Linked DNA regions of Homo sapiens: region 2 is linked to region 1. Evidence: promoter capture Hi-C in human tissues and cell types (Jung and others, 2019). All regions are on one chromosome and are shown on one strand. The core of a region is centred on a gene start or on the middle of the fragment in contact, and the rest is flanking DNA. Distances in the headings are between cores, read along the strand shown.

The links. The method cuts DNA at HindIII sites, captures the fragments that hold promoters and counts their contacts. A contact is called where the count stands out against the background at its distance.
Region 2: a contact is called between the fragment with the promoter of ZNF830 here and the fragment with the promoter of TMEM132E in region 1, in 3 of the 25 tissues and cell types used here (bladder, mesendoderm cells and thymus).

What each region holds. Positions count from the first base shown.
Region 1 is chr17:34,577,058-34,582,480 of GRCh38, forward strand. It overlaps TMEM132E (transmembrane protein 132E), which reads left to right and starts at 2,525. Exons shown (of 9, transcript NM_001304438.2): 1 at 2,525-4,086. The coding sequence starts at 4,020. TMEM132E-DT (TMEM132E divergent transcript) reads right to left here and starts at 2,312. Exons shown (of 2, transcript NR_160787.1): 1 at 1,814-2,312; 2 at 1-563. RefSeq lists enhancers at 1,477-2,013, 2,014-2,549. The HindIII fragment of the contact is 28,166 bases long and covers 1-5,423 here.
Region 2 is chr17:34,957,807-34,963,521 of GRCh38, forward strand. It overlaps ZNF830 (zinc finger protein 830), which reads left to right and starts at 3,734. Exons shown (of 1, transcript NM_052857.4): 1 at 3,734-5,715. The coding sequence starts at 3,761. The coding sequence ends at 4,879. It overlaps CCT6B (chaperonin containing TCP1 subunit 6B), which reads right to left and starts at 3,654. Exons shown (of 14, transcript NM_006584.4): 1 at 3,451-3,654; 2 at 1,781-1,844; 3 at 754-888. The coding sequence starts at 3,587. RefSeq lists a silencer at 3,184-3,478 and enhancers at 3,198-3,247, 3,348-3,567, 3,618-3,697, 3,778-4,027. The HindIII fragment of the contact is 13,629 bases long and covers 1-5,715 here.

The DNA.
Region 1 (5,423 bases), core at 1,275-3,774:
GAATGTATAGAACCCCTTTCCAGGTAAATGACATGCAGGATTGGAATAGCTGAAACAACTGGCTGTCTACCTTGTGCCAACTGCCTTCTCTCTGAGCAGTAGGATTTACACTGCTGAGAATGACAGGTCCATGGAGCACTGCAGGTTGTAGTCATATTTTATTCTCCAGGTGGGCTATCGGCTGCCCTTCACTTCCCTGAGGCAAGGAGGAGGAAAATCTGGCATTTGGAGAGTCAGAGGATCATCAGGCCCATGGACTTGGCACAAGGCTTCAATCCAGGAAGGGTAGATCCATATCGGAGGTACAGGAAGAACTTGAGGCTGAAACTGTGTTCTCTAAAGATAGCAGGCTGCTCCCTCGCCCTTTCCAACCACAGGCCTCAGTCTTCTCCATAAGATGAGCGAAGTGCATGATGCCAAATCACACCACAATTGCAAGCAATTAGAAGCTTAGTGTCTGCCTTCCCCTCTAGAAAGTTAGTTCCATGAGGACAAGAGCTGGTTTTGTCCTGCTCACTGTTGTACCTACAATGCCTGTGATGTTGGAGATATGCACCATACTACTGTGAAAGGGAGGGACAGAGACAGGGAGGGAGGAGGAGAAACTGAATCACAAAGGAAGGTCACATAAGAGCTATGGGGTGGGGTGAGATGGGGTTGCAGAGAGAAGAATTCTATGTCTGAGTCCCTGCCCACCCTGACCAGAACACTGTGCTATTTCCACAGATGGCTGGGAGAGATGCAACATTGCTGCCCCTCAGACCCTAGCGTCAACTGGGAACATTTGAGGAGAAAGGAAATTTGATCCACAACACAGGGTAAGGTGTGTCTTGGGCTCAGAAAAGCACCTTGTCTCTTCCTTCTGGCCATGCTCAGGCTCCATGACCCTTCTGATGGGGTGCTGGGCAGGGATGGAGGGCCCTCCCTGCTTCCTTCCTCCTCTTCCTGAAGCCCTCCTCTGCCTCAGGAGGTGGATCTTTCCCCCTTTCTCCCCCACACAGAGCCTGATTGCTAGCTTGCTTCTCAGGGGGTTGGTGAATAAGCCCTTGGGTGACATTAATTGCCATCAGGCATTAGGGGCCTAATGAGAATAATCTTCTTTGACGACTCCAGCACCTTCTATCCCCAGGGCCTCCAAGAGCTGGCCAGCTCTCCTCAGGCTGCACCTCCCCCCAGCTCCAGACAGATGTAGGGGTGGGGGAAGGGCCAGAGCAGCCCTCTACAGGCCCCAGTACCAAGCGAGGCAGCAACAGCCAGCAGCCAGGGAGGAGGAAGCCTTCCATGAAAAATGCAAGCACATTTTCCAAAAACAAAATGTCACCGTCCTAGATGAAAGGAAACTCTCAGGGTCAAGAGGGCTAGCATGGAGTCAGGCAGATGGAGGGCACGGTTTGAGTGCCCCAGCTGGCTTTGCTCTGACCTGGCCCCACACTCTCACTCCAGTTGAGTGCAGAGGTATGGAAGGGTGACCCTCAAGATCCATATCCTCCCCAGTAGGGATATGTCCATGGGATTGAAGACCCTGTCCCTCCAGAGCAGGGTAGGATTGAAATTCACCCTCTGGGGATTGGAGTTGATACCCAACGAAGCTATAAAATCATTGCCATGGATCCGATGCCTGGTTGACAGATGAGGTGTGAAGGTTGACTTGCCGGGTCTGATCTAGGTTGCACTCTAATGGAAAGGGCCTGATGGTGGGAACAGATATCACTCCAGCCACCCCTCCCGCTAGTCAGCAGGTGCCTGGGTGAGTATGCAAGAGGGGCAGTTCCCCACCCCCACCTCATGCCTCTTTAAAGGCTTGCTAAACAACCTGTAGGAAAGCACTGTCCCCTCCTCTTCTCCGTCTTCCTTCCCCAGCAACAGAATAAATAGGTTTCCCACAGCTGCGCCCCGGACCCATCCCGCACGAAGCTGAGCCCCAGAGCCCCCGCGGCCCGAGAGGAGCTGGGCACAGCAGCGAGGCTGATTCCCAGCCAGTGCCCAGCGAACTCTGGGGGTGGGGGTAGGGTGCCCCCTACCCGCGCCTCTGGAAGAGCGGCTGCAAAACACCTCCGGCGCCCGGTGGGGAGCGTGCATCCTTTGAAAAGGGACATCAGTGACTGCGGTGGCGTCTACCCTGGAGAAACGCAGCTGAGGGAGGTGGAGGCTCCTCCCGCCGCAGCTGGCCGGCCCCATTCGGGTCCCAGCGCTAGCCGGCGTTGGGAAGGAAAAATCAAACATAAAATAGGGGCGAGCGGAATCGCGAGGTCGGCCCTTGGCCCGAGTCTCATTAAGGAGCCGCGCGCGCCGCCAGGCTAGGAATGCGGAATGGACACGTGGACAGAGGAGGGGGAGCTAGGAGTCGGGGAGTCTCCGTGGCGCGCGAGCTGTGGGCCGCGCGCTCGGGGGCCACGTGACCACGGGGAATCTGGGAGGGGTGGGAGTGAGCGCGCCAAGCTCGGCGCCCGCTTCTGCCCGGGTGGGCGCTGAATCCCGGACGGAGGAGGAGGGCGGGCGAGCGCGAGTGTGTGTGTCTCTCTCGAGTCATTTACGGCGGAGCAGCCGGCGCGAGCGCCGAGGAGGCGGCGACGGCGGCGGCGGCTGCTTCGTGCAACTGTGGCTTCCCCCACCTCCTCTTCCTTTTTGCTCCTCGATTCTTCTTCTTCCCCCACACACGTCCATGGGGAGCCGGCTCCCCTGCCAGCACCTCCTCTCCTCTCGGCCCCGTAGGCACCAGCTGCCGCTTCCCTGGCCGCAAGCTGCGCAGGTGCCGGCTGCCCTGGCCCCTGGCGCCGCGCCCGCGTCTCACCGCCCGCAGCCCGGACTGGCGCGGCGATCCGCTCGCCCAAACTGACTCGGAGGGAGCGGGAGCCGATGCCCGGCAGCATCGAGACAGCGGGCGAACGGGCGTCCGGGGACAGGGTGGGGGCGGCGGGGAGGAGGCGTCGGAGACTCTGAACCCCAGAAAAGTTCAAGGTTTGTGCAGGTTCCCCCAGGGAAGGCGAGGAGCGAGGCGGGGCAGCGCGCCTCTCTGCCGAGACAGCGAGACCTTAGCGGGGTGGCCCGGAGCTGCCGTGAGCTGCAGGAGCCCCTCTGCATCTTACAGCGTTTATGGTCATCAAGCTGGAGTCGACGTCCTGGGCAGGAAGGGCTCGGGGCAGGGCGCATTAGCCGGCTTTCTCGCTCCCTCGCTTCTCCAAGCCCCATCTACATGGGGCAGCCCGTTCTGGCCGCGCCACCCTTGCCCCAGCCGCCGAGCGGCTGCCTGGGCAGGAGGCGCTGAGCCGGCCTGTGTGGAGCCTGGGCCCTGATCCAGACTGGAGAAAGCGCGCTGGAGCGGAGGAGCGAGCCTTGCGAGGGGACAAACATCTGGCCGCCCGCCTCGGGCATCCGGTCTGGGCGTCGCCTAGGGTGGTGGCGACCGGCGTCGCCAGTTTCAGCACCGCACGGAAACTTTTCCTTCTCCAGATGGATTAAAGTTGTCTGGATTTTCTCTTTCTTTGAGAAAGACAGCATTCATTTGCACCTGACCTGGGATTTTTATGCTGGGCTGCTGCAGGGGCTTGGAGGAAGAAAGCGGCGCTATCCATGTGCGGTTACTACCGAAACCGAGGAAACTGGGGATTGCGTTGGAAGTCGGCACCCTCGAGTGAGTTCGGATTCGAGCTGGGCCGTGAGGCCGGGAGATTCAGCACTGGGCTCTAGGTAGCCCCCGGGACGCCCGCGGCCACCGGGCTCCGGACTGCACGTGCAGCTCCCCCCGCGCCTCGCAGATCCTGCAGGGGGCACCAGCTGGGGGAGGTGGAGGCTCCTCCCGCCCGGAGCTGCGCCCCCACCGGCTCCGAGGGTGTAGCCGCCAGCGCCTGGGACGCCCCCTCCCCGCAAAGTGTCCCCGAATTGCACTCTCTGGTCCCGGAGCTGCATCTGAGACAGCCGGGCGCCACGGCAGCCCTGAGTTGGATGTGACCAAGCCCAGCCTGGGGCCAAGTCGTCGTCGACTGTTGCTCTCTCGGACCCCTCCCGCCCCCGCCTCGGCCATGGCCCCGGGGATGTCGGGCCGCGGCGGCGCCGCCCTGCTCTGCCTCTCAGCGCTACTCGCCCACGGTAAGTGTCGCGGCGCGGACTGGGGGTGAGGATGCGGCAGGCGCCACTGGAGGGGGTACGGGGAAGACTGGGGAGAGGAGCACCCACACCCCCTGGACTCGCAGCCGCCACTCCGGGTTTGGCGTCTCTGGCTGCAGCTCGAGTTACCGCCAGCCCCCGAGCCCTCCGGCGAGCTCAGCTGAGGGGACCGAGCCCGGCGCCAGAAAAGGGTGGGGGGAGGGTGTCGCTCCAGTCCTCTCCTGGTTATAAAGAAGGGTTCGAACCCGAAGGTCTGGGGTCGTGTCCGCCCACGGAAATCTAGAGGGATCCGAGGGATCCTCCGGATCGCGTCCAGGCCGCCCCCCGCCCCCGTCTCTCCCTGCAGCCGGCCGGGCTGGGGGCTGTTGGGATCCGCCGGGATCGCGTCTTTCCTCGCCCCGGGCGCGCAGGCCGGTGCGGGGCCGCGCCGCCCGTCGCCTCGCTTCCTGCGGCGGTCCTCGGGAAGGGAAGTGGACTGACTCCGGGCCGGGGAGCCGCCGCGGCTCGCACGCCCGCGGTCCTGTGAGCTGCATCTAAATGGCCGGCTTAGGCGAGCCCGGAGGGCGGGGGTCTGGGCACCCGCACAGGCCGGGGCGGTGGGCCGCGGGCCGCGCGCGGAGGGAGCGGGCTCCGCGCTCTCGCATTCTGCAATCTGTTGCGTCTGCTCCCCAGGCTCGCCCCGGGCTCCGCGGTAAAGGGGGTGGGAGAAGGAGGGATTGAGGTTGGCGCGCTTTGGCGGTGGGACAGCGGGCATACGGGTGGGGGGCAGCGGGTTTTTGAACAGCCCCCAAGAATGGGAAATCAGACCAGAGGGAAGGAGGCTGCAGCGGGCCTTCCGCAAGCTGGAGACGCTCCAGGAGGCGAGGGGAGCAGACCGAGGTGGGAGGGAGAGAGCTCCGAAAGGAGAGTGGAGAAGCGGGGCCCTCTGCTCCCTCCTAACGTGAAACCAGCCGACCTGGGATACATTTTCTTAACCAGCAAGGCGTGGCGGGGTTGGGGGGCGGGGGTGTTTCGATGCTCCACGCTGAGGGGTGAGCCTCAGGCAGAATGGAGGGCGCTTAGATGGAGGGGGCAGTGGGCTCTCCGCATTGGTGGAGCGCCCTCGGTGTGCCGGGCTCAGCTCTTGCCCAGATCTGCCCAGTCCCTAAGAGCCTGCTCAAGCTCGCCAGGAGTGTGCCCAAGGTCTCTAACCAGCGGCCTCTTTCACCCTGACCAAAGCGCATTCTCAAGGTTGAGAGAATAAGAAAAAGAGGGGCTCTCGGAATCGTAGGGTCCTGGGGCTAGGAGGGGGGCGGGGAGCAGGCAGACCTCCCTCTATG
Region 2 (5,715 bases), core at 2,484-4,983, 380 kb after region 1:
AATGTACATGATGTTTTCAGAGGCCAGTGAACGGAGGAGTCTGGCTGAAGTAGATGATTTATAAAGAAAATGAAACTAGAAAGGAAGGTAAATTCACAATAAGTAAAACCTTCAATAATTTTTCTCCAGTGGTTTTATAAAGGTGCATAATTTGGTTTCAACTTTATCTATGGTGTTTTCTTTCTTAATTACCCATGGATACATGGGTAATTTTTTACTTTTTTAGGTCCGTTAAATATTTCATTTTTAAAAGAGGTATATAATTCCAACGAAAGGCATTATTTTGGCCAACAAAGTTCATTATTATTTCCATTTATAATTGTCCAAGAATATCTTAATTAAAATTAACTGTCTAGACCAGGCACGGTGGCTCATGCCTGTAATCCCAGCACTCTGGGAGGCCCAGGCAGGTGGATCACCTGAGGTCAGGAGCTCAAGACCAGGCTGGCCATGATGGTGAAACCCTGTCTCTAAAAAAAATACAAACATTAGCCAGGCATGATGGCGCATGCCTGTAATCCCAGCTACTCGGGAAGCTGAAGCAGGAGAATTGATTGAACCTGGGAGGCGGAGGTTGCAGTGAGCCAAGATTCTGCCACTGCACTCCAGCCTGGGCGACACAGTGAGACTCCATCTCAAAATTAATTAATTAATTAATTAAAACAAAATTAACTGTCTAAAACTCAACCATTTTACTAGTTAAAAAAATAATTTGCCATTCAAAATAACATATAAACTGTGAAATTCTAATACCTCAGAAATGTACAGGTCAGCTTGTTTTAATAACTCTCCAATAATTAGAACATTTGAAGTAGTACCATCTCCTGTGACGTCATCCTGAGCTGTTGCTACTTTTGCTATCAAGGAAGCTGTTGGATGTTGAATTTGCTGGAAAAAGCAAGCAACAGATTTAAAAAGACAGGATGAGATAAGGAAGTAGGTCACCAAAAGCAAGATAACCTAGGGGTCAGTAGCAAAATTAAAAAATGAAATAAGCTTCATTCTACAAGTTTACAAGTTTTGTATTATCAATACCTAAATGTCAAGTCCAAAATTTTAAAAGTGACAGGTAATGAGGCCTGAACATTTCATAAAAGTCTTTGCTTCAGAATGCAATGACATTTCTAAAATAAGATTAAATCATTCAATCTCAAAATGAATACATGTATTAAACTTGCAAAGGATATTTTTATTTTTCCATAATTACAAAGAACATAAGGCAGTGCCCTTAAAAGATATTATTGATTTATAAGTATGCCTAAGTATACAAAGTATGTATAAGTATACAAAGACTTGGAAACAGCCAAAAAAAAAAACTTTTTTTTTTTTTTTTTTTGAGACAGGGTTTCACTCTGCCACTCAGGCTGGAGTGCAATGGCACAATCTCATTCACTGCAGCCTTGGCCTCCTGGGCTCAAGTGATCCTCTCACCTCAGCCTCCAGAGTAGCTGGGACTATAGGCGTATGTCACCACACTGAGCAAAATTTTTTTTTTTTTTTTTTTTTGTAGAGACGGTTTTCACCATGTTGCCCAGCCTGGTCTTGAACTCCTGGGCTCAAGCAATTTGGCCACCTCAGCCTCCCAAAGTGTTGGGATTACAGGAGTGAGCTACCACACCCGGCCAAAAAAATTTTTTTATTGAGGTCTAATTCAACAGTCTTCAGCATATCTCAAGACTGCAGTATTTAGCTCACAGCCTTGGCTTAAAGATACACAAGTTCTACTATGCTTCTAATTAAGGCTTATTAAGGTTTATTAAAGTCAGCAGCATCAGCTCACCATCTCATCGAGCAGCACATTGCCATCTTTGGTGAGTTTGATGTCACCTGCACCAGAAACAAGCCTGTTCAGAGAAGAATGATATTAACTTCATGTGGTAGGAAGACATTCCCAGTGCTTGCCACTCCATTATCCTTAATAGAGGGAACTGGGCTCGGAAAACTTCCACTGTACCATGGGAATATGCCATGGTAATTACCACCATTTGCAGCTCACAGAATCATTTCTCCCCAGATGGACAGATTATGGAGATTTCATTCCAAATGGACTATTTACAGGTTTAAAGATAAAAGCACTTGATGAGTTACGAACTGTGGTTTGGTCAAAGAATACTTGGAAGTCTACAAAGCACAAATTCGCAAATTTCCTGCAGGTTTTAATTTTGGTGAATGTTTTCATTCATTCAGTCACTCAACTTAGTTTCCCTCATCCCTGCATTTATTAGATCACCAAGTTCTATCAATTCTACTACCTAAATATCTCTTGAATCTGCCACCTTCTCTCCATCTCCACTGTTATCATCTCTACTTTGGATGGCATCCGGATATCTCCAAACTTAAATATACCCTCCACACATTTTTCTTTCTAAAAGGCAACGTGATTCAGTCAGTTCCCTGATCAAAAGTCCTCCAATGATTTTTATGTTTTCCATCATTTTCAAGTTAAAATCCAAACACAGCAATGACATACTTGACCTTTCCCAATATCTTCCCTGCCTCATCTACTTTTCCACAAGCAAATCTTCTGGTTCCCTTAATATACCATGTTTTGTTTCGTTTCTGTTGGATTTGCACCATTGGTCTTTCTTATTCCTGAAATTACTTTGCCCAGGCCTTTACTCCCTCTTCCAACTAGTGAAGTCTTATTCTTCTTTCAAGACTGATCAAACATGTTACTTAAGATGCTTTTCCTTCTGCCATCAGTCCCTTTCTTCAGCATAATTATATGCATCTATATATAATTAGCACATCCTACTCTACCACATCCGTCTCTACCACATCTCCTTAAGAACAGAAACCGTTATCTTGATCATTTCTGTGTCCCAACAACTGGTACCTAAGTGACTTATTTTACCATTAATATTATTTTGTTCATTACTATGAGGATGTGTCTCTCCTCTTATACCCTTTTGCCCTCACTGGTCTCTTTTCCTCACTCTTGTCTATAGAAAAGGGTGCTTAATATATACTGAAAAGATGAATAGATCTGAACAACCATAGACACGGGGTATTCAAGTAGAACTTGGATTTGACCCCATGCCTTCCTGGCTCCAAAGCCTGTGTCCTCTCCACTACAATACATTGCCATACAAAAAACAAAACTACTTGTTGAATTTATGGACCAAGGGTATACAGTCTTAAGGAGCAGAGGAGTTAAATGCTTTGTTTCCAATGAGACACTAAATTAACTGACTTTCTAACTGCATATGAACCTTGACGACAAGTCGGGGGTCGGGGAAGCGCCACAGCTTCACTCCCGGGGCCCTCTACTAGGGGAGGCTTTTCTCCTCCACCTGCACCAGGCGAGAAATACCCCCAGAGCAGGGATGAGAATGAGGGAAATCAAGCTCGCAAGAACATCCACAGCGCTACGCGGACGCCTGCCTCAGAGGGCGACAGGACACCAACGGGCCCCTAGCCGCGTAATGGCCGCTCCAACCGCTGTCTCACATTTTCATGGTGCCTTTAGGACCCAAGTTGGTCCGCAGCACATCCTGCAGCCCTCGGGCGGCGCATATATTGACAGCCAAAGCTGCCCGGGCCCGCGCCACCTCAGCCTTGGAGTTGACGGCCTTTATCGCAGCCATAGCCTAACCGTTCAGAGGGAGAAAAAAAAAAAGCCTTAGTCGCGATTCTGAGCAAAAACGGCAATGCGACGCCACGCTCTCTTGAGCCTCGGCCAATCATCGCCCTTACAGGAAGTGACGTTATCATGCCTCGCCCGACGGAAACCAGAATCGTTTTGGGTCTGGTCGCCAAGATGGCGTCCTCCGCCTCCGCCCGGACTCCGGCAGGGAAGCGAGTGATAAATCAGGAAGAATTGCGGCGGTTAATGAAGGAGAAGCAGCGTCTGAGCACCAGTCGGAAACGGATAGAATCTCCATTCGCGAAGTACAACCGTTTGGGGCAGCTGAGTTGTGCCCTGTGTAACACTCCGGTTAAGAGCGAGCTCCTGTGGCAGACTCACGTCCTGGGAAAGCAGCACCGAGAGAAAGTGGCCGAGCTGAAAGGCGCGAAGGAAGCCAGCCAGGGTTCGTCCGCCAGTTCAGCGCCTCATTCCGTCAAGAGGAAAGCGCCGGACGCAGACGACCAAGATGTCAAGAGAGCGAAGGCCACCTTGGTGCCTCAGGTACAGCCCTCCACATCTGCGTGGACCACCAACTTTGACAAAATAGGAAAGGAGTTCATTAGAGCGACTCCCAGTAAGCCTTCAGGACTCAGTTTACTCCCCGATTATGAAGATGAGGAGGAGGAGGAAGAGGAGGAGGAAGGAGATGGAGAAAGAAAAAGGGGGGACGCCAGCAAGCCGCTCTCCGACGCACAGGGCAAGGAGCACTCAGTTTCCTCTTCACGGGAGGTAACAAGTAGTGTGCTGCCAAACGATTTCTTTAGTACTAATCCTCCCAAGGCCCCCATAATTCCTCATTCAGGGTCAATTGAGAAAGCAGAAATACATGAAAAAGTGGTGGAAAGGAGAGAAAACACCGCGGAAGCGTTACCGGAAGGTTTTTTTGACGACCCTGAGGTAGATGCAAGAGTACGAAAGGTTGATGCTCCAAAAGATCAGATGGACAAAGAGTGGGACGAATTCCAAAAAGCCATGAGGCAGGTCAACACTATTTCCGAAGCCATAGTTGCCGAAGAGGATGAGGAGGGACGGTTGGACCGCCAGATTGGGGAGATCGATGAGCAGATAGAGTGTTACCGACGGGTGGAAAAGCTACGGAATCGCCAGGATGAAATAAAAAATAAACTTAAAGAAATCCTGACCATAAAAGAACTGCAGAAAAAGGAAGAAGAGAATGCTGACAGCGATGATGAGGGGGAACTACAGGATTTGTTGTCTCAGGATTGGAGGGTGAAAGGGGCATTGTTATAGGGTTTTAAAGACCCAAGGTTTCTAACAGCCTCTGCTGTTGTATAAAAAGTGCTGTCTCTCAGTAGTATAGCGGTTACTTCATGCCTCAAGATTTGGGTACCTGGATTGCTAAACTGGATTGTTGAGATAAAATGAGCCAGTGAGCTACAGCACTTTGGAAAATTTGTGTAACATGTTTTTGAGGTAAAGTTGTTTTTGAAATTTCTGAAGTGTTATATACCAAAATGCCAACATTTCCACGACAGACTTAACTGTATAATTTCGTTGTAAAATCTGTAAGTTGTAAATATTGTACATAGTTAAATCTGTATTCTGTTTTGAATTTTTTTAATTAATAGAAAGACCAACCGGCAAACTTTCAGATGAATGCTTACTGTGGTATTTGGAATGTATGTATCTTCTGAACCCTACATCAAGTTGAAAAGGTTTGTTTTCTTGTTTCTTTGGTTTTTGTATGGTTTTTTAGAACACTTCATAAACACATAAGTCATTGTAGGTTAATCAGTTCTCTTAGTGTGCTTTATTTTAAAAACATAAGAAAACTATATGCCAAACATGACCAAACCAATGATGGTCAGATGTGGTTGCACATGAGAGTCACCTATGAAGCATTAAAATAATTAAAGTGTCTGAGGCCTTCCCCTTCAATAAATCTGGGATTGGGCCCAGGCAACTGTGTTTTTTAAGCACCCAGGTTATTCTAATATATGCCAGGGTTAGAGAGTAACTGCCCTAAATCCAGAACCCATTTATGTTTTTCAGGTTTTTTCTTTTTCTTTAAATAACACATTCCATAAATTTGCTGTTTCTTGAATGAAGGAAAAAATATTATCTTT